Regions from separate parts of the Homo sapiens genome. Here all the other regions are linked to region 1. Evidence: promoter capture Hi-C in 16 types of primary human blood cells and fetal thymus (Javierre and others, 2016). All regions are on one chromosome and are shown on one strand. Each heading gives the region's core, a stretch centred on a gene start or on the middle of the fragment in contact. The rest is flanking DNA. Distances are from core to core; before and after follow the strand shown. Region 1 holds the start of ZNF619 (zinc finger protein 619). Region 2 overlaps TRAK1 (trafficking kinesin protein 1). Region 3 overlaps TRAK1 (trafficking kinesin protein 1). Region 4 overlaps ULK4 (unc-51 like kinase 4). Region 5 overlaps ULK4 (unc-51 like kinase 4). Region 6 has its middle 53 kb from the start of ULK4.

Region 1 (2,700 bases), core at 145-2,644:
CAGAGAGAAACGATTGTAAATGTTTCTTACCAGACTTCAAAAGGTGCCAAACTCTTAGTTAATTCTCTACTGGATCAAGGAAAACACTTTGAAAGTGAAGGGGATTCTTTACAGGATGTAGATTTTCTTCACAAAAGACAGCTTTACAGGGTCATTTCAAAATATGTCAAAGAAATACATTTTAGGGTAAAATACTTCAGTTTATTTCAGGGCCTGTTATCTGTCACATGAGACTATACTAGAGTCAGGTTAGAATTTGATGTCTTATTGCTATAAAGAGTTTGTTTTGGGCTGGGCGTGGTGGCTCACGCCTGTAATCCCAGCACTTTGGGAGGCCGAGGCGGGCGATCACGAGGTCTAGTTCAAGACCAGCCTGGTCAACATGGTGAAATCCCGTCTCTACTAAGAATACAAAAATTAGCCGGGCGTGTTGGCACGTTCCTGTAATCCCAGCTACTCAGGAGGCTGAGGCAGGAGAATTGCTTGAACCCGGGAGGCGGAGGTTGCAGTGAGCCGAGATCGGGAAACTGTACTCCAGCCTGGGCTACAGAGTAAGACTCCATCTCGGAAAAAAAAAAAAAAAGTTTTAGTCAGTCTCAAGATCTCTGTTTTAATGTTAATGCTGGTCCGTAGTGCCTGAATTCCAAGGGCATAACGAGGCAAGTCCGATCCCCTGCTTCCCATCATGGCCTGAACTAGATTGCCAGGTTTTCTTTGGAATGTTTTGGCTGAGAGAAGTGGTCCATTCAGTTGGTTGGGGGACTTAGAATTTTATTTTTGGTTTACAAAACTGTTGCATGAATTGACTCAGTTAATTCACTGAATTTATAAATTACAAACTTTTACCATTCTCAACTGATAAATTGAGGCAACGATTTAAGTATAACTTGAGCAAGTCCATATAGAGTGGAGCCAGGAACGCAGACAATGAGACACCATACCCCATGGTCTTAGGTCACAGTCATTCAGTGGGAGACAGGGGCTATAAATTCATTAGAAGGTTAAGTTAGGAATTAAGTAATTAGGTAAGGAATTAGGAATTCAGTTAATTAAGTTACAAATTGTTAAATATGGAGGAATTTATCATGTAGTTGGGGTACTAAGACATAAGAGAAAATAATAAAGAAAAACAGGAGCGGCCGGGCGCGGTGGCTCACGCCTGTATTCCCAGCACTTTGGGAGGCCGAGGCGGGCGGACAGCTTGAGCTCAGGAGTTCGAGAACAGCCTGCGCAACATAGCGAGACCCCCGTTTCAAAAAACACACGAAAAAATTAAAATTAAAAAACAAACAAACCAGGCGCAGAGCGGTTGTGGAGAAGGGAAGCGAAGGGTTGGAGTTTCGTTTCGTGGGAACCATAGAGAAGGGCCAGCCTCCCGGCTTCCTAGAGAGGCTGTAGGGACCGACGGCCGGCCAGCTAATGCTTCCGTCTTGGCCACCTTGCGAGCGCTCGGGTTGAGTTTCCCGGGCTTCCCTGACTCGGCTACCTGTTCTGGAGGTCAGGCTTTGGGCCCTTGCAGAGGTCGCCGAGGGGCCCGCGCCGCCGCCAGAGCCTGGGCCCAGTCCCCAGTCTTCAGAGACGCCCTCGACCTTCCTGCTCCGAGGAGCTGGCCTGATGTCCTCGGGTCGCGGTATTCATGGGGAGGATGGGAGCCGTGACTATAGGGTCTCCTGCTTCCCAGGGTGGAGCGTTCAGATCCCGGTTAGGTCTTCGGTCAGCATCACCCGCTGGGACATTAAGCGTCTTACCCTTGTCACCCGGGGCTGGGTCACCACTTATATTTTGTCCTGCAGCCTGTGGTTTGTTTAGGGGTCCCCGTTATATCCTACTTTCTCTCCAGAGACTTGTTTTGGGTTTTTGCCATGAACACTAGAAGCATTCAATACAAACTGTTTAGTAATGCATTCATAGTGGGGCCAAGAATTTTTTTTAAAAAACAGCCACGAATCCACTGCAGTTCTTGACTCTTACTTTACAGATATTCTTTCTAGAGTTTCCAGTGTCACCAAGCAGATCTATAGGAGAATATGCAGAGGGAGCATTTGCAACATCCCATGAATCAGTGGAGAGGGTGAATGACAGCAGCTAGTGTGCCAAGAATATCTGCAATGCTAGTGGCAGGAGACAGAGGGGAAGAGGCGGCAAGTGTAGGAGACGAGACAGATCAGTCTCATTGTGGTTCTCTCTTAGCTCCGCAGGTTCTTACTTTTTCAAACCTAGAGGGCAGTGCATGAAGCCAGGGGTCATCAGCCATGCTCCAGACAGTGTGGTTCCAGGTGAGCAGAGCTTTCTTTCAGCTTTCCATACTCAGAACAGATATGGAAGGTCAGTACAGCCCCAGTAGCCTGACTTGGCCAGTCTCATGCTTAGTTTTACATCCTTCAATAAAGTATGTAAAAACAGTATGCGAGGGGAGTTGACGAACGAGAGTAGGTGAATTTGGGAGAGTCAGGTAGGTTGGAAAAGAAGGAATGAATTATCCTAGAAAGTGGGAATCTGCATTCATGAGAACTGAAAGTGTGGCCTGGAGATGAGCAGCTTTTGCATTACAGAGGGCTCTTGTTAGGCAAAATGTCAGGCCCCCTCCCCAGATCTCCTAAATCAGAATCTACATTTTTACAAGATCTGGAAAATTAAAGGGCAGATTAAAATTTGAGGAGTGCTAGTCTGCGTTCACAGTACACAAAGAAAAGCCATTTC
Region 2 (2,733 bases), core at 205-2,704, 1.7 Mb after region 1:
TCTTGAAGGTGATGATGGTGCTGACCCCTCTGTCTCTCCCTTGCCTGTACCCTTTCTTTTCCCTGCCTGGCATCTCTCAGCCTCTGCTGCCAGCATCCTTGGAAGACATTTCCTCCATCTCTGCATCATTTTTCAGAGCCGGCCAGTTTCTATGGCAACGGTTAGATTGAAAGATGAGCGGCGAGCAGGAGACGAGGCTTGAGTGAGACAGCCAGTGGTGGTGTGTGTCTCTGACGTCACCCTCTAGGCGTCTGGATAGGACGATCCTGGCTACTCCCATTCAGGGCTGCTGTCCAGTGCTGCTTTATTGGCAGTGCTGCCAGGGTCTCCGTTAGCTCTCTGCAAATTGCCTTCCTTTCTGCTCCTCCTACTCCCTCCTTCCCCCATAGAATTTTTCTTTTCATTGCCCACTTTACTGTTTTGGCTCCAGACTGTCGTTAAGAATGTACAGCCTAATTCTGGTGTGTTTCGGGATATTCTTCTGTCCAGTATTCTGGAAGGGCGGGGAGGCATGGCAGCGTTTTACTTGACGTTGATGGTGCTGTGAAGTCCATTCTTTCCTCTGCAAGACTACTGACTATGCAGAAATTTATCGAAGCGGATTATTATGAACTAGACTGGTATTATGAAGAATGCTCGGATGGTAATTATGGCCCCTGCAAAACAGAGCCGGGATGTATAGGGGTATTGTCTCCTTCTGGGTGGGGGGTGTCCTGAAACCTTTAGGGGAGACAGGCGGCTGGCGGGTGGGAGGTACCAGAACTAGCACCACTGGCTCTGGCAATTCCAAAGGCATGGTGGAGGAGGTGGCAGGTGGGCAGGGCTCTTTACCGTGAAAGACTCCTGCAGTATGTATGATTGTTTGCTTAGAAGGGGAGATGGTTTTTGGTGTGCTGGGCTTGTAAGTGTTATACTTCTATTGGATTGAATTTTCTCTGGTGTGAGACGTGAGTGTGTTGTTGATGCATGAATGTGTGCAAGTGGAAATGTGTTCACTGCGCTCTTGCTGTTGGAGGGGATAGGAAACTGGGGGCTTGGAATAGTGTGTTCAGGAGGTGGCTTCCTGGACTGTCAGCAGCAGGCCTGGAAGACTCTGCCCTTTTCTGAGCCCAGACCTGGGAACCATCAGAGGCTGGAGAAAAGGCAGAAGCAGCTTACCACTTAGCGGGTGATTCAAATGAAGTTTGCTTGTTGGATCCAACAGAGATGGGGGTGGGGAGGTGATGGGAGGGGCAGGGAAAGAATGTGTCCTTCTGTCACTACCTTGGTTTGTGCAGGGAGGGTGTGGCACATTCCAAGGGAGACTGGGTGGAGGCCAAGTTGTGTGGCTGGACAGGTCTCAGGAGGTTTCAAGCACACAGAAAACAGCACTGAGGTGCGTTCTCAGAGACATCACAGTGGGCGGGGTCTCAGGTTCCTGGGGTGTTGGACATCAAAATTGTGTATTACACAGTTAATCTGTCTTTAATTTTGTCTTGAAAGTGACCCTCATATCACATGCCTTCACAAAAAAGGGGCCCAATTAATATATACACTTTGAGGGTCTGTTCCCCAGTGATGATATGTTCCCAGCCCTATATGAGCCATTAATAGATAAGGTAAGTGCTTTTTAATTGAGTCGGGAGTTTCAGAATGCTCTATTCCTGACTACATTTGATTAACCTGAATGATGTAACAGGCTGGGACCTGGCCTAGTTAGTAAACTGAAAAACTACATAATTATCTCTTATCCACTGATTTTTGCCGCGACTGTGGGTTAAGGCTTTCTCAGGGGATGGTATTTAAATGTGTGGAAAAACTATGCCAGTTCAATCTCACTGGCCCCCAGCTTTAGATGCAGACATTGTCATGTTCGTTCTGTGTACATCTTTAACTATTTTGAGTAACAAGGATTGGAGGCAGTTCCCAGGGTCATGAGGGGAAAAGATGAGTGAATTTTTTCTTTGGAATATATTCATTCTAAAAGCAAGTTCCCATTCTGTTACCTAACTCCAAAAGGAAATTCTAGAGATGCTCCTTTTTGGAAACCATCATTGACCTCCTTCTAGTTTCCTTGGTGATTTGTGACTCATTGAACCCTCTATAACTTTTTAAAGTAAGGGATTGAATACATCCTCACTGTACCATTGGATTAGGGAGCACTGGTTACAGCAGGGTGCTGTCAGAGGCCCCGTGGATTAGTCAGGTGGGGCCATAGCTCTGTGGATGCCATCCTAGAAGTGGAGGAAGAAGGTTTCCTAATACCATGACCCAAATGCCACACCATCCAGTTCCCTTTACACCCTGAAATAAAGCCAGTCGCTTGCCATGGTCAATCTGGAGGGTGAGCGGAGGCCTGCTCTTATCTGGGTATCCATCAGAAGGATTTTCTTACCCAGCACTTCCTCAGTTGAGTCTTTTGGCCCTGAGAGACCCTGATCTGTCTTCCTCTAAGAGCAAAGGAAAATAGAAGAGGAGATGGCTCAACTGTTCAAGGGTAAATATATTGATTTATTTATTTCTGAATTATTGTTATTGTCTGAATGTATGTTGAGCAAAATACTTGTCCTTTATCATCTATCCCATTTTGGATGAAGGGAAGAAGGTTTTTGAGACAGAATTTACTGGGACCACTGGTATTTTCATACTCCCATTTAAAGAGGTAGCAAAGTAGGGAATAAAGGAACAGAAGTCCAGAAATAAACTGGTTTAGGAAACGTACAAAAAGGAGATTTCAATTATGTGCCAATTTTG
Region 3 (2,700 bases), core at 80-2,579, 1.7 Mb after region 1:
TAGTTCCTTTTTAGAACTGGGTGCAGCAGGGGATTCCTGTTTAGTCACATGGGTTCTCTTGTGTGGAATGTGAGGATGTGGCTAGATGCACTCATGTTTTGTTTGTCACTTTCTATCTGACCACTGGAGCCTTCCTGATTTGTTCTGGGGAGACAGCCTTGGTTGGTGGGCTTGGGACCCTACACTGAGCTCAGGAGTGCTATCTAATGGGGTGAGATTCTTTTTCATAACTGATTGAGCCCTGAAGAAGCTGCTTTGCTTCTCCATGTGGGAAAATGGTCATTATGAGTTCCTTCCTGCACCCTCCCCACTCTACCCTGTCTTTTAGTAAGGATGGTTTTTCTTGTGCAAACCACAAAGAAACCATTCTCTCTGGGTCTGCATGTGTGGTTTTCTGACTTCCTCTCCTGATTGTTGCTTCTTTGTCAAAGGGGATGCCAATGTCCAGATTGCTAGTATCTCAGAGGAACTGGCCAAGAAGACGGAAGATGCTGCCCGCCAGCAAGAGGAGATCACACACCTGCTATCGCAAATAGTTGATTTGCAGAAAAAGGCAAAAGCTGTAAGGCTTCTCTGTTTATCTGGCTGATACAACAATGGCCATGCTGAGACGGGGAAGGGACATTTACTCCAGAAGACAGTGCTCTTTAGTTTCATATCTTAGCAGTTCGTGTTGCCGCTTTGCAGAAAAAGCTTAGTGGACTCAGTAGTATAAAACTGATTACCTGAATTGGTGACGAGTCTTATTTGTGACCTCTTATCTCCTAAAATTATATTGAATTCATTAAAAAGATGTTGTAAATATGGACTTTTGCAGTTTAACTTATGGATCATCTAGTCTAGTATTTGTTTTTACACAGTGCACTAGATATGTGCTGCAGTAGAGCAGTATCCTCTTCAGATTTAAGAAGAGGCAGCAAAATGGACTTTGCTATTAGTGTGGGGTAAAATGCTTCCAGAGAGCTTTGGAAGATGGGGGTGGGGCGGTGGGCTATAGAGAATGAATGTGGATATAGGAAAGACTTTACCTTCAAAATAATATAAAAAGCAGAATTTGAGTATAAGATGAGCATGTCCTTGTAGAAAGTGATGAGTTCATTACAGATTAGGTTAATAAGAGGGAAAAAGTTGGACTTTTACCAAGTATCTTAGGAAGTGATCTATCTTTGCCATGCTTTAGTGCGCAGTGGAAAATGAAGAACTTGTCCAGCATCTGGGGGCTGCTAAGGATGCCCAGCGGCAGCTCACAGCCGAGGTGAGCACCTCTCCCTCATTCCTTCAGTGCCTCTGATTGCAGCCAAGGTGGATTAGCCTTCCCGGACAGCTTTAGTCACGTCCATCGCAACTACTGTTTTTATTTTGAATTTCATTTCATTTTTATTCGTGGGAGAGTAAACCCAGTTGCACCTTGGTTCTGTGCCCACTGACACTGTTACTGGTTATGGGCACCTGTGTGGCAGGGCTCTACACCAGCTGAGCCTGGCACGTGCAGGTGTCCAAAAAATGTTCAAAGAAATGAAACAATACAACACAGAGCACTCTGGGAGAGGAATCTCACAGGTGTGGCTTGAAACATGGGTGTGACGATTTTCTTTTTCTTTCTCTCTTTTTCTCTTTTTGAGATGGGGTCTCATTCTGTCACCCAGGCTGGAGTACAGTGGCATGAGCATGGCTCACCGCAGCCTCGACCTCTCCAGGCTCAGGTGATCCTCCTGAGTATCTGGGACTACAGGTGTGGGCTACCACACCCACCTAATTTTTGCTTTTTTTTTTTTGAAAGATGAGGTTTTCCCATGTCGCCCAGGCTGGTCTCAGCTTCTGTGCCCAAGCAAACTGCCTGCCTTGCCCTCCCAAAGTGCTGAGATTACAGCTGTAAGCCATCATTCCTAGCCTGATTTTTCTTTTGCATGAAGTTGGTTTTGTTTCATTTGCCCATTGTTGGTATTTTAGAAGATTTCTGAGTCTGTAAGCTTGCCTCAAGTCAAAGAAAAAGCAAGCCTTTGAAAATTCTGTTATTTGGCCACAGGCGCACAGGGCAGCTGGTTCCACACGTGCTGGGGACTCTTAGATTGCTGTGTCTTTCTGGCCTTCGGATGGGCAGATGTGTGTACACCTGGGTGCTCAGGAGATCCTGACCCTCTGTGTCTTTCCTGCCTGCAGCTGCGTGAGCTGGAGGACAAGTACGCAGAGTGCATGGAGATGCTGCATGAGGCGCAGGAGGAGCTGAAGAACCTCCGGAACAAAACCATGCCCAATACCACGTCTCGGCGCTACCACTCACTGGGCCTGTTTCCCATGGTGAGCTGTGCTTTCTTCCCAGCCAGAGGACAGGAGGGGTTCTGGTGACAGGAGCACAGTGTCTGACATTCTGGCCACTGGAGTTGGGTGTTCACAGTTCGCTTCTCGTTGTACAGTTCAGATCTGAGTCTGAATCAAGGACACTTGAATCTGACTGGTGGTTTCTTAACTACATAAGACAAATTGGTTATTTTCTGTTCCTCTAAATCTGTGGTCTTTTCTACTCCTGCCATTAAAAGATAAATTTAGTAGGAACTTGCTTTAGTGGGAACCTGAGGTATTTGGAAGATCTGACTCATACAGGTTGAGCATCTCTAATCCAGAATGCTTCACAATCCAAAACTTCCTGAGCACTGACATGATGCATTGTAGACATTTAATAGACATTACGTTTAGACGGAT
Region 4 (2,753 bases), core at 228-2,727, 1.5 Mb after region 1:
GCAATCTTGGCTCACTGCAACCTCCACCTCCTGAGTTCAAGTGATTCTCCTGCCTCAGCCTCCCAAGTAGCTGTGACTACAGGCATGTGCCACCATGCCCGGCTGATTTTTTTGTATTTTTAGTAGAGACAGGGTTTCACCGTGTTGGACAGGCTGGTCTTGAACTCCAGGCCTCAAGTGATCCGCCCACCTCAGCCTCCAAAAGTACTGGGATTACAGACATGAGCCACCGCGCCTGGCCCACTCCCAGCTAATTTTTGTATCTTTTGCAGGGACACATTTTCACCATGTTGCCCAGGCTGGTCTCAAACTCCTGAGCTCAAGCAATTCGCCTGCCTCGGTCTCTCCAAGTGCTGGGATTACAGGTGTGAGCCACAATGTCCAGGGGGAATTTCTATACATTAACAAATGTACAATCGAAAAAGGAAATCAAGAAAACAACTTCATTTATAATAGCAGCAAAAAGAATAAAACACATAGGAATTAACCAAACAGGTGGAAAGACTTACACAACAAAAACTACAAAAAACTTCTGAAAGAAATTTTTAAAAGACATAAATAGGCTGGGCACGGTGGCTCACACCTGTAATCCCAGCACTTTGGGAGGCCGAAGCGGGCAGATCACGAGGTCAGGAGATGGAGACCATCCTGGCTAACACGGTGAAACCTCATCTCTACTAAAAATACAAAAAATTAGCTGGGCATGGTGGCGGGCGCCTGTAGTCCCAGCTACTCAAGAGGCTGAGGCAGGAGAATGGCGTGAACCCCGGGAGGCGGAGCTTACAGTAAGCCGAGATTGTGTCACTGCACTCCAGCCTGGAGGACAGAGCGAGGCTTCGTCTCAAAAAAAAAAAAAAAAAAAAAAAAGACACAAATAAGTGGGAAAATATCACGTGTTTATGAATTAGAAGGCAATTTTCAGATATTAATAATTAACATTCAAATACTACCCAAAATCAATCTATCCAAAGCAATGTATGCATTCAATGCAATTCTTATCAAAATCCCAACAACTATTTTTGTGGGACTAGAAAAATCTATCCGAAAATTCATATAGAATCTCAAGGTATGTCAAACGGCCAAAACAATCTTAAAAGAAAAAAAAAAAAAAGCTGGAAAACACACACTTCCTGATTCCAAAGCTTACTACAAAGCTACAATAATAAAAACAGTATAGTACTGGCATAAAGATGGAAATATAGACCAACAGTATAGAATAAGGAGCCCAGAAATAAACCCTCACACATATGGTCAAATGACTTCCAATAAGTATTCCAAAACTATTCAATGAGGAAAGGGCAGTCTTTTCAACAAATGGTGCTGAGAAAACTGGATATCCACATGTAAAAGAGAGAAGTTGGACCTTTACTGTTGTGGTCTGAATGTGTCCCTCTAAAATTCACATTGAAACCTAATGTCCACTGTGGTGGTATTAGGAGGTGGAACCTTTAGGAGGCGATTAGGTCATCAGGGCTCTGCCCTCATAAATAAAATTAGTGTCCTTAGAATACAGCCATAAGGGGGCCTGTTTTCCTCTTCTGCCATGTGGGAACACATAAAAGGCACCATCTTTGAGAAACAGAGCAAGCCCTTACAAGACACCAAAACTGCTGGCACCTTAATCCTGGACTTCCCAGCCCCAAGAACTGTGACCAATAAATTTCTGTTATTTATAAGCTATCCAGTCTAAGGTATTTTGTCTTAGCAGCCCAAACAGAGACATTTACGGAACACCACATAGAAAATTTAACTCAAAATGAGTCAAATATCACTGAGGTAAAAATACATAACTATCAGAAGAACAAATAGGACAAAAGCTTCATGACACTGGGCTTGGCAATGATTTTTGGATATTTGCGTAAGACACCAAAGACACAGATAACAAAAAAAAAGACAAATGTGACTCTGCAAAAATTTTAAACTTTAGTACATCAAAAGGCACTATCAACAAAGTGAAAAGGCAACCTATAGAATATGAAAATATATTTGCATATCATATATCTGATAACAGATTAATATCTAGAATATATAGAGAAGTCGTAAAACTCAGCAAGAAAACAACCAACCAGATTAGAGAATGGGCAGAGGACTTACAGAAATGGACAAAAAGAATAGACATTTCTCCAAAGGAGATATACAAATTGTCTATAAGCATATGAAAAGATGCTGCTCAGCATCACTAGTCATTAGGGAAATGCAAATCAAAACAACAATGAGATACCACCTCACACCCATTAGGATGGTTACTGTCAAAAAAAAAGACAAAAAGTACTGATAAGGATGCAGAGAAACCGAACCCTTGTGCACTGATGGTCTGGAATGAGAAGATGGCAGAGCTGCTGAGGAAAACAGTATGGCAAGTCTTAAAATAATTAAAAATAGAATTACCATAGGACCAGCAATTCCACTTCTGAGTATATACACAAAATAAAGCAAGATCTCAAAGAGATATTTGTATCCACATATTCATAGCACCATTGTTCACAATAGTTAAAACACGGAAGCAACTTGTGTCCACTGTTACATAAATAAGCAAAATGCGCTTTATATATGTACAATGAAATATGATTCAGTCTTAAAAAGGAGGAAATTCTAACACATGCTACAACGTGGATAAACCTTGAGGACATTACACTGGGTGAAATAAGCCAGACAAAAAATGCTGTATGATACCATTTATATAGAGTAGTCAAAACCACAGAGACAAAAAGTAGAATGATAGTTGCCAAAAGCTGGAGAAGGAGAAATGAAGA
Region 5 (2,700 bases), core at 139-2,638, 1.4 Mb after region 1:
TCAAAGGGAGAAAGGAGCAAACTTGAAAGAGCTCCCACTGGATGGAGATGAAACAATGTAAGCATCAAAAAGACTAATGACTGCAAAGGACTAGACGATATACATATACATATATACACCTGTAAGTTCTTAACAATATAAAATCAATCTCACTAGACACGGAGATTTCTCAGGTACCAACTCTTTATTCTGAAAACTGACCTATGAAGAGGAACAATCAAGCATTTATCCTGCCTTGCAAAACAAACTCTATTTTAAGGATAACCAAATAGTTGATCAGGGAAAGATCTTCTGTAAGAAAACTTCCAACTACAAATAGAAAGGAAATTACAGAATAAGAAAATTATCATTTTGCAACTCTAAAGGATTACTACATGTAGACAATAATCGATTGATGTTAAAACTGTTAAAAAAAAAAAAAAAAAAAAAGAGTGAGGAGTTCCTGACTCACAGATAAGGGTATGAAGAAAAAAAAAGAGTGATGGGAATATTTATAATAAGGCTGACAACATCTGAGTCTAGTGATCAACTTTAACCCCTCTAATAGAGGCATATAATGTTTAATTGTCTCACTTCCTATGAAGCAGTAGGAGAAATACAGCACCAACTGTGACAAATTCCTATTTCCCCAAGCCATCCCCCCAAAAAAAAGTACTGAATCAAGGGTCCACATCTAAGCAGCCATGCGCAAGAAAGGAAAGGCAGGTGATAAAGGACTATATTAAATAACACCAAAAGGGTGCAGTAAAGCTTCTGGTATTCCAATTTGGGCCAAGACAAGGGACAATTTGTCTGTAACAAATAAATGACACTAAAAAATAAGAGACCAGGAATTAAGAGACTTAAGGGTCACAATATCTAAACGCAATCCTGGCTCAAAGAAAAATTACAAAATGACATGTATGAAACCACCAAGAAAATCTGAACACTAACTGGGTATTAGATGATATTCAGAGACTACTGCTGAATGTATTGGGTGTGATAATGAAATCATGGTTATACATTTTTCTAATCCTTTTCTGCTAGCAAAAGATATTTACTAGTAAAATGATATCATTTTATTTAAAATACTCCAGCAAGAAAGAGAGAGGGAGAGAAAAAGGGAGAGGGGGAATGAAAGCAGGACACAAGATGAAACAAGATTAGCCAGTGTTGATTGCTGGAAGCAAATGATACTACCTCATTACTCTAGCCTCTCTACTTCTATATATGTTGAAATTTTCCATAATTTAAAAAAAAAAAATTTGAGACAGGGTCTTGCTCTGTTGCCCAAGCTGGAGTGCAATAGCATGATAATAGCCCACTACAGCCTCAACCTCCCAGGGTCATGTCTCAGCCTCCTGAGTAGCTGGGACCACAGACGTGCACCACCACACCAAACTCTATTTTTTCTAGAGACAGGGTCTCCTTATGTTGCCCAGGCTGGTCTCAAACTCCTAGGCTCAAGTTATCCTCCCACCTCAGCCTCCCAAAGTACTGGGATTACAGCCGTGAGTCACCACGCCCAGCTGATAATAAAGAAATTTAATGAATGGGTTAACCTAAAATGTCTGTTAATACTCCTTTTGGCCAGGAGTGGTGGCTCATGCCTGTAATCCCAGCACTTTGGGAGGCTGAGGCGGATGGATTATTTGAGGTCAAGAGTTCGTGATCAGCCTGGCCAACATGGTGAAACCCCATCTCTACTAAAAATACAAAATAAATTAGCTGGGCGTGGTAGTGCATGCCTGTAATCCCAGCTACTCGGGAGGCTGAGGCAGGAGAATCGTTTGAACCTGGGTGACAGAGGTTGCAGTGAGCCAAGATCACGCCACTGCAATCCAGCCTGGGCAACAGAGTGAGACTCAGTCACAAAAAAAATTCCTTTCAGTTTTAGAATTTGATGGGTCTATATTAAATTTCATAAAATATATCCACTGCACGCTTCAGACTAAATATATTGGCTTAATATCAGAAATGTTTTTTAAAATTATTACACATAGAAACCACAATGATTACAGAGTGGTAAATGTGTTATCTAGGAATATAAGCTTCAGATGGTTATATTTTTCAGTAAAAAAGATACAGATGTCAATAAATGCTTCTAAATGCATAAAGGAGATCATGACCAGTTATTTTCTGTAGCTGTTGATGACAGAATAAGATGAAAGAGATTTAAATTATATTACAAGGATAGTAAAATAGATTTTTGCTCCATTTTTTCTGTCTCTTTATAACAAATTATACCATCATATTCTTCTGACATTCTTTTAATCATTCATTAAACTCTCCAGCATTAACTGCCTAAAATACACATTACTTTGCTGGCTCGGCACTGTGGGGTACAAAGGTGAGTAACAAAATGAGGTTCTATGCCATTAAAATGCTTATAGGGGCCAGGTGCAGTGTCTCATGCCTGTAATCCCAATACTTTGGGGAAGCCAAGACAAATGGATCACTTGAGGCCAGGAGTTCAAGACCAGCCTGACCAACATGATGAAACCGTGTCTCTACTAAAAATACAAAACTTAGCAGAGCATGGTGGCATGAACCTGTGGTCCAAGCTACTCGTGAAGCTGAGGCTGAGAATCTCTTCAACCCGGGAGGCAGAGGTTACAACGAGCCAAGATCACACCACTGCACTACAGCCTGGGCAACAGAGCGAGACTCTATCGCAAAAAAATAAATAAGTAAGTAAAATAAAATAAGATGCTTATAGGG
Region 6 (2,700 bases), core at 98-2,597, 1.5 Mb after region 1:
AGCCTTAGCGTCCCCGAGAGTCTCGAACGCCCCGACGACCCCCGCGTCTCGGAACCCCGGACTCCGAGCCCAGGAGCGCCAGAGCGGCAGGCGGGCAGCAGGAGGCGGCGGCGCCAGAGCGGAGCCCCCGCGAGTGCCCCCGTGCCGCCCGGCCGGCTGCAGCGGAGGGAACCGAAGCCGCCGGGCGGCCGGGGCCGGGCCGAGAACGACGCGGAGGAAGCCCCCACCGAGGCCCCCCGGCACCGCGCCTGCTGCCGGGTTGCGCTCCGTGCACCTCTTGCGGGTAAGCCAGGGGTCCGCTCACCCGCGCCGCCTGCGCCTCGGGCCCAGGGGCTGGGGAAGGACACGGGTGTTCTGGGAGTGTCCGCGTGAGATAGTGGCGGCGTGAGAGGCCGGGCGCCGGGACCCTGCGGGGACAGCCCTCCTAATGCACCGGCCGCACCTGCAGGAGGCCCTCGGAGCCCGGAAAAGTGCCCCTAGGGCATCGTGTCGGCCACGCCGCGTGGCCTGGATTCCGCGCTCCGGCACTCCGAGGTGACAGTGAGGCGACCTTCAAAGAGCCTGGAGCTGAGCGCGGGCAGCACCCCGATTCCCACTCACCCGCAAAACTTGATGAAAATGACATCATCTGAGCGTGTCAGAGAGCAGAGAGCCTTTAGAGCCCTCCTTTGCATCCTTGAGAGTTAACAAGTTTACTTTGTCACTTTCTTGACCTGATTTTTAAAGTTCTTTTCTAGTCTCCAAGGTCAAGCTCTTGCAGGTAAAAACAAATGTAATGAACTGTATCGTTTCTTCTTTTGTAAAGTTGTGTTTCAGGAAAGATGTTAAAAGTCGGCCTGCTCTTGAGGCTGGTGCTGGGTGCCCCTTCCGCTTTAAGCTTGCCTGTTTTAGAACCCGTGGCTGCACTTGTTCAGACACTGAAATTAGCGTCCGCTTTGAGAGCCTTCAGAGTATTCGTCGTTGGACCGCTGATTTTTTTTTTTTTCTGATATGCTTCACTGGAACTTTATTTGCTTCAAAAGTGTAAACGTTGTCAATACTGTCTGTGAGTGTGTATTCGGGACTGGTAACCTTTTCTGGAGGGTCTTTTGTTTATCTGGAAGGAGAGTGGAGGTTACCATAGGGAAACGGTCTAGTTCCAGGGTCCTTTCCAATTTCCAACTACAAGAGCAGCGAAGAGGAAGGTGCTCAGACTAAGCTCTGATTAGCCCTGGAGCCAGTCTGCACTGGGGAGGGTCTCCCCAGATTGAGTGAAGGGACAACAGGCTGGGAGCTTGACTGGTAGGTTTGGAGAGTTGGACCTGGAGTGACAGATGGCGCCTTCCCCTCTGTCTCTCGGTTTGGAATGGTCATACTCGGTTGCTCTTTGATCTTGGACCTCAGCTTTGTCACAGAGGTTCCCAGCCCAGTGTAGCCTAAGCCAGCTGGAAAGCTGAGCCCGGCTCTGGGGGATGCTGAATCGGTTTAAAGCCCTTGTCTCAGGGCTGCGAGTTTGGCAACAGTTGGGTTTCAGCTTGGCCCCAGCACCAGCCGTTTCCTGTTTGATGCCCCAGGGACCAGTTTCCCATCCCCAGCGCTCGCTTGAGGGTGTCTCCACTCTGGCTGTGTTGCTTCTCCTTCTCTGTGGTCTTGGAGTGGGAAACCTGGACTGAAATTCCAACTCCTCTCTATTGGCTGTGTGACCTTACTTAACCTCTCTGTCCTGCTCTCCCCTCTCTGGGAGACAATGTTTTAAATGGAGGTGTCTGTAAAAGTTTGACTGAATGACATGGGAGCGTTTTCAGGTCTCCTTCCAACATGATTGGGTTTGTAATTTGGTAAGCTTTTTGAGCCCCAACAGGGATAATAAAGCATATAATAGTAATTATTGTTTTATAGGTTTATTATGAGGGTCAAATCAGGTAATATAAAAGAGCTTTGGGCCGGGCATGGTGACTTGTGCGTGTATTCCCAGCATTTTGGGAGGCTGAGGCAGGTGGATCACTTAAGGTCAGGAGTTCGAGACCAGCCTGGCCAACATGGTGAAACCCCGTCTCTACTAAAAATACAAAAATTAGCTGGGCATGATGATGGGCACCTGTAATCCCAGCTACTAAGGAGGGTGAGTCAGGAGAATAGCTTGAATCCGGGAGGCAGAGGTTTCATTGAGCCAAGATCCCGCCACTGCACTTCAGCCAGGGCGACAGAGCAAGACCCCATCTCAAAAACAAAAACAAAAACAAAAAACATAAAAATAAAAGGGCTTTCAAAAATAATAGAGCACTATTCACATTGAATGGAGTTCTTAAACTTTCACTTTCCAAACTAACAACACCTTAAGGTTTGCCATCTTAAGTGGACTTTGTTCCTGTCATTGCATTCTGGTTTTTTGTTTTTTTTTTTCTTTTTGAGTCAGAGTGTCGCTCTGTCATCGAGGCTAGAGTGCAGTGGTGCGATCTTGGCTCACTGCGGCCTCCACCTCACAGGTTCAAGTGATTCTTTGGCCTCAGCCTCCCGAGTAGCTGGGATTGCAGGCACCTGCCACCACGCCCAGCTAATTTTTGTATTTTTAGTAGAGACGGGGTTTCACCACTTTGGCCAGGCTGGTCTCAAACTCTTGACCTCGAGTGATCTGCTGGCCATGACCTCCCAAAGTGCTGGGATTATAGGCGCAAGCCACCACTCCCAGTCCCTGTCGTTGCATTCTGAGTCCCTGCCTCT

Evidence for each region. Contacts are between HindIII fragments. The CHiCAGO score rates a contact against its expected background, and 5 or more counts as called.
Region 2: a fragment that was not itself captured here is called in contact with the fragment with the promoter of ZNF619 in region 1 in 1 of 17 cell types (total B cells); the score reaches 6.0 in total B cells.
Region 3: a contact is called between a fragment that was not itself captured here and the fragment with the promoter of ZNF619 in region 1, in 1 of 17 cell types (total CD8 T cells). The highest score is 5.3, in total CD8 T cells.
Region 4: a fragment that was not itself captured here is called in contact with the fragment with the promoter of ZNF619 in region 1 in 1 of 17 cell types (activated CD4 T cells); the score reaches 6.8 in activated CD4 T cells.
Region 5: a contact is called between a fragment that was not itself captured here and the fragment with the promoter of ZNF619 in region 1, in 4 of 17 cell types (M2 macrophages, M0 macrophages, total B cells and 1 more). The highest score is 8.6, in M2 macrophages.
Region 6: a fragment that was not itself captured here is called in contact with the fragment with the promoter of ZNF619 in region 1 in 1 of 17 cell types (monocytes); the score reaches 5.5 in monocytes.

Annotation. Positions count from the first base shown.
Region 1 is chr3:40,475,728-40,478,427 of GRCh38, forward strand. It overlaps ZNF619 (zinc finger protein 619), which reads left to right and starts at 1,395. Exons shown (of 5, transcript NM_001145093.4): 1 at 1,395-1,630; 2 at 2,191-2,276. The coding sequence starts at 2,253. RefSeq lists an enhancer at 1,569-1,708. The HindIII fragment of the contact is 7,181 bases long and covers 1-2,700 here.
Region 2 is chr3:42,148,957-42,151,689 of GRCh38, forward strand. All of the region lies in intron 2 of TRAK1 (trafficking kinesin protein 1), which reads left to right. Among named protein-coding and RNA genes, the nearest start is that of TRAK1, 59 kb to the left of the region's middle. RefSeq lists an enhancer at 2,664-2,733. The HindIII fragment of the contact is 2,941 bases long and covers 1-2,733 here.
Region 3 is chr3:42,192,644-42,195,343 of GRCh38, forward strand. TRAK1 (trafficking kinesin protein 1) reads left to right here. Exons shown (of 16, transcript NM_001042646.3): 8 at 432-562; 9 at 1,181-1,255; 10 at 2,161-2,298. Among named protein-coding and RNA genes, the nearest start is that of CCK, 72 kb to the right of the region's middle. RefSeq lists an enhancer at 2,220-2,379. The HindIII fragment of the contact is 1,277 bases long and covers 692-1,968 here.
Region 4 is chr3:41,950,302-41,953,054 of GRCh38, forward strand. All of the region lies in intron 2 of ULK4 (unc-51 like kinase 4), which reads right to left. Among named protein-coding and RNA genes, the nearest start is that of ULK4, 10 kb to the right of the region's middle. The HindIII fragment of the contact is 675 bases long and covers 1,141-1,815 here.
Region 5 is chr3:41,878,268-41,880,967 of GRCh38, forward strand. The region is part of intron 17 of ULK4 (unc-51 like kinase 4); the gene reads right to left. Among named protein-coding and RNA genes, the nearest start is that of ULK4, 82 kb to the right of the region's middle. The HindIII fragment of the contact is 1,280 bases long and covers 749-2,028 here.
Region 6 is chr3:42,013,835-42,016,534 of GRCh38, forward strand. It overlaps a transcript of TRAK1 not described here. Among named protein-coding and RNA genes, the nearest start is that of ULK4, 53 kb to the left of the region's middle. RefSeq lists silencers at 1-147, 208-277 and enhancers at 468-607, 1,001-1,502. The HindIII fragment of the contact is 945 bases long and covers 876-1,820 here.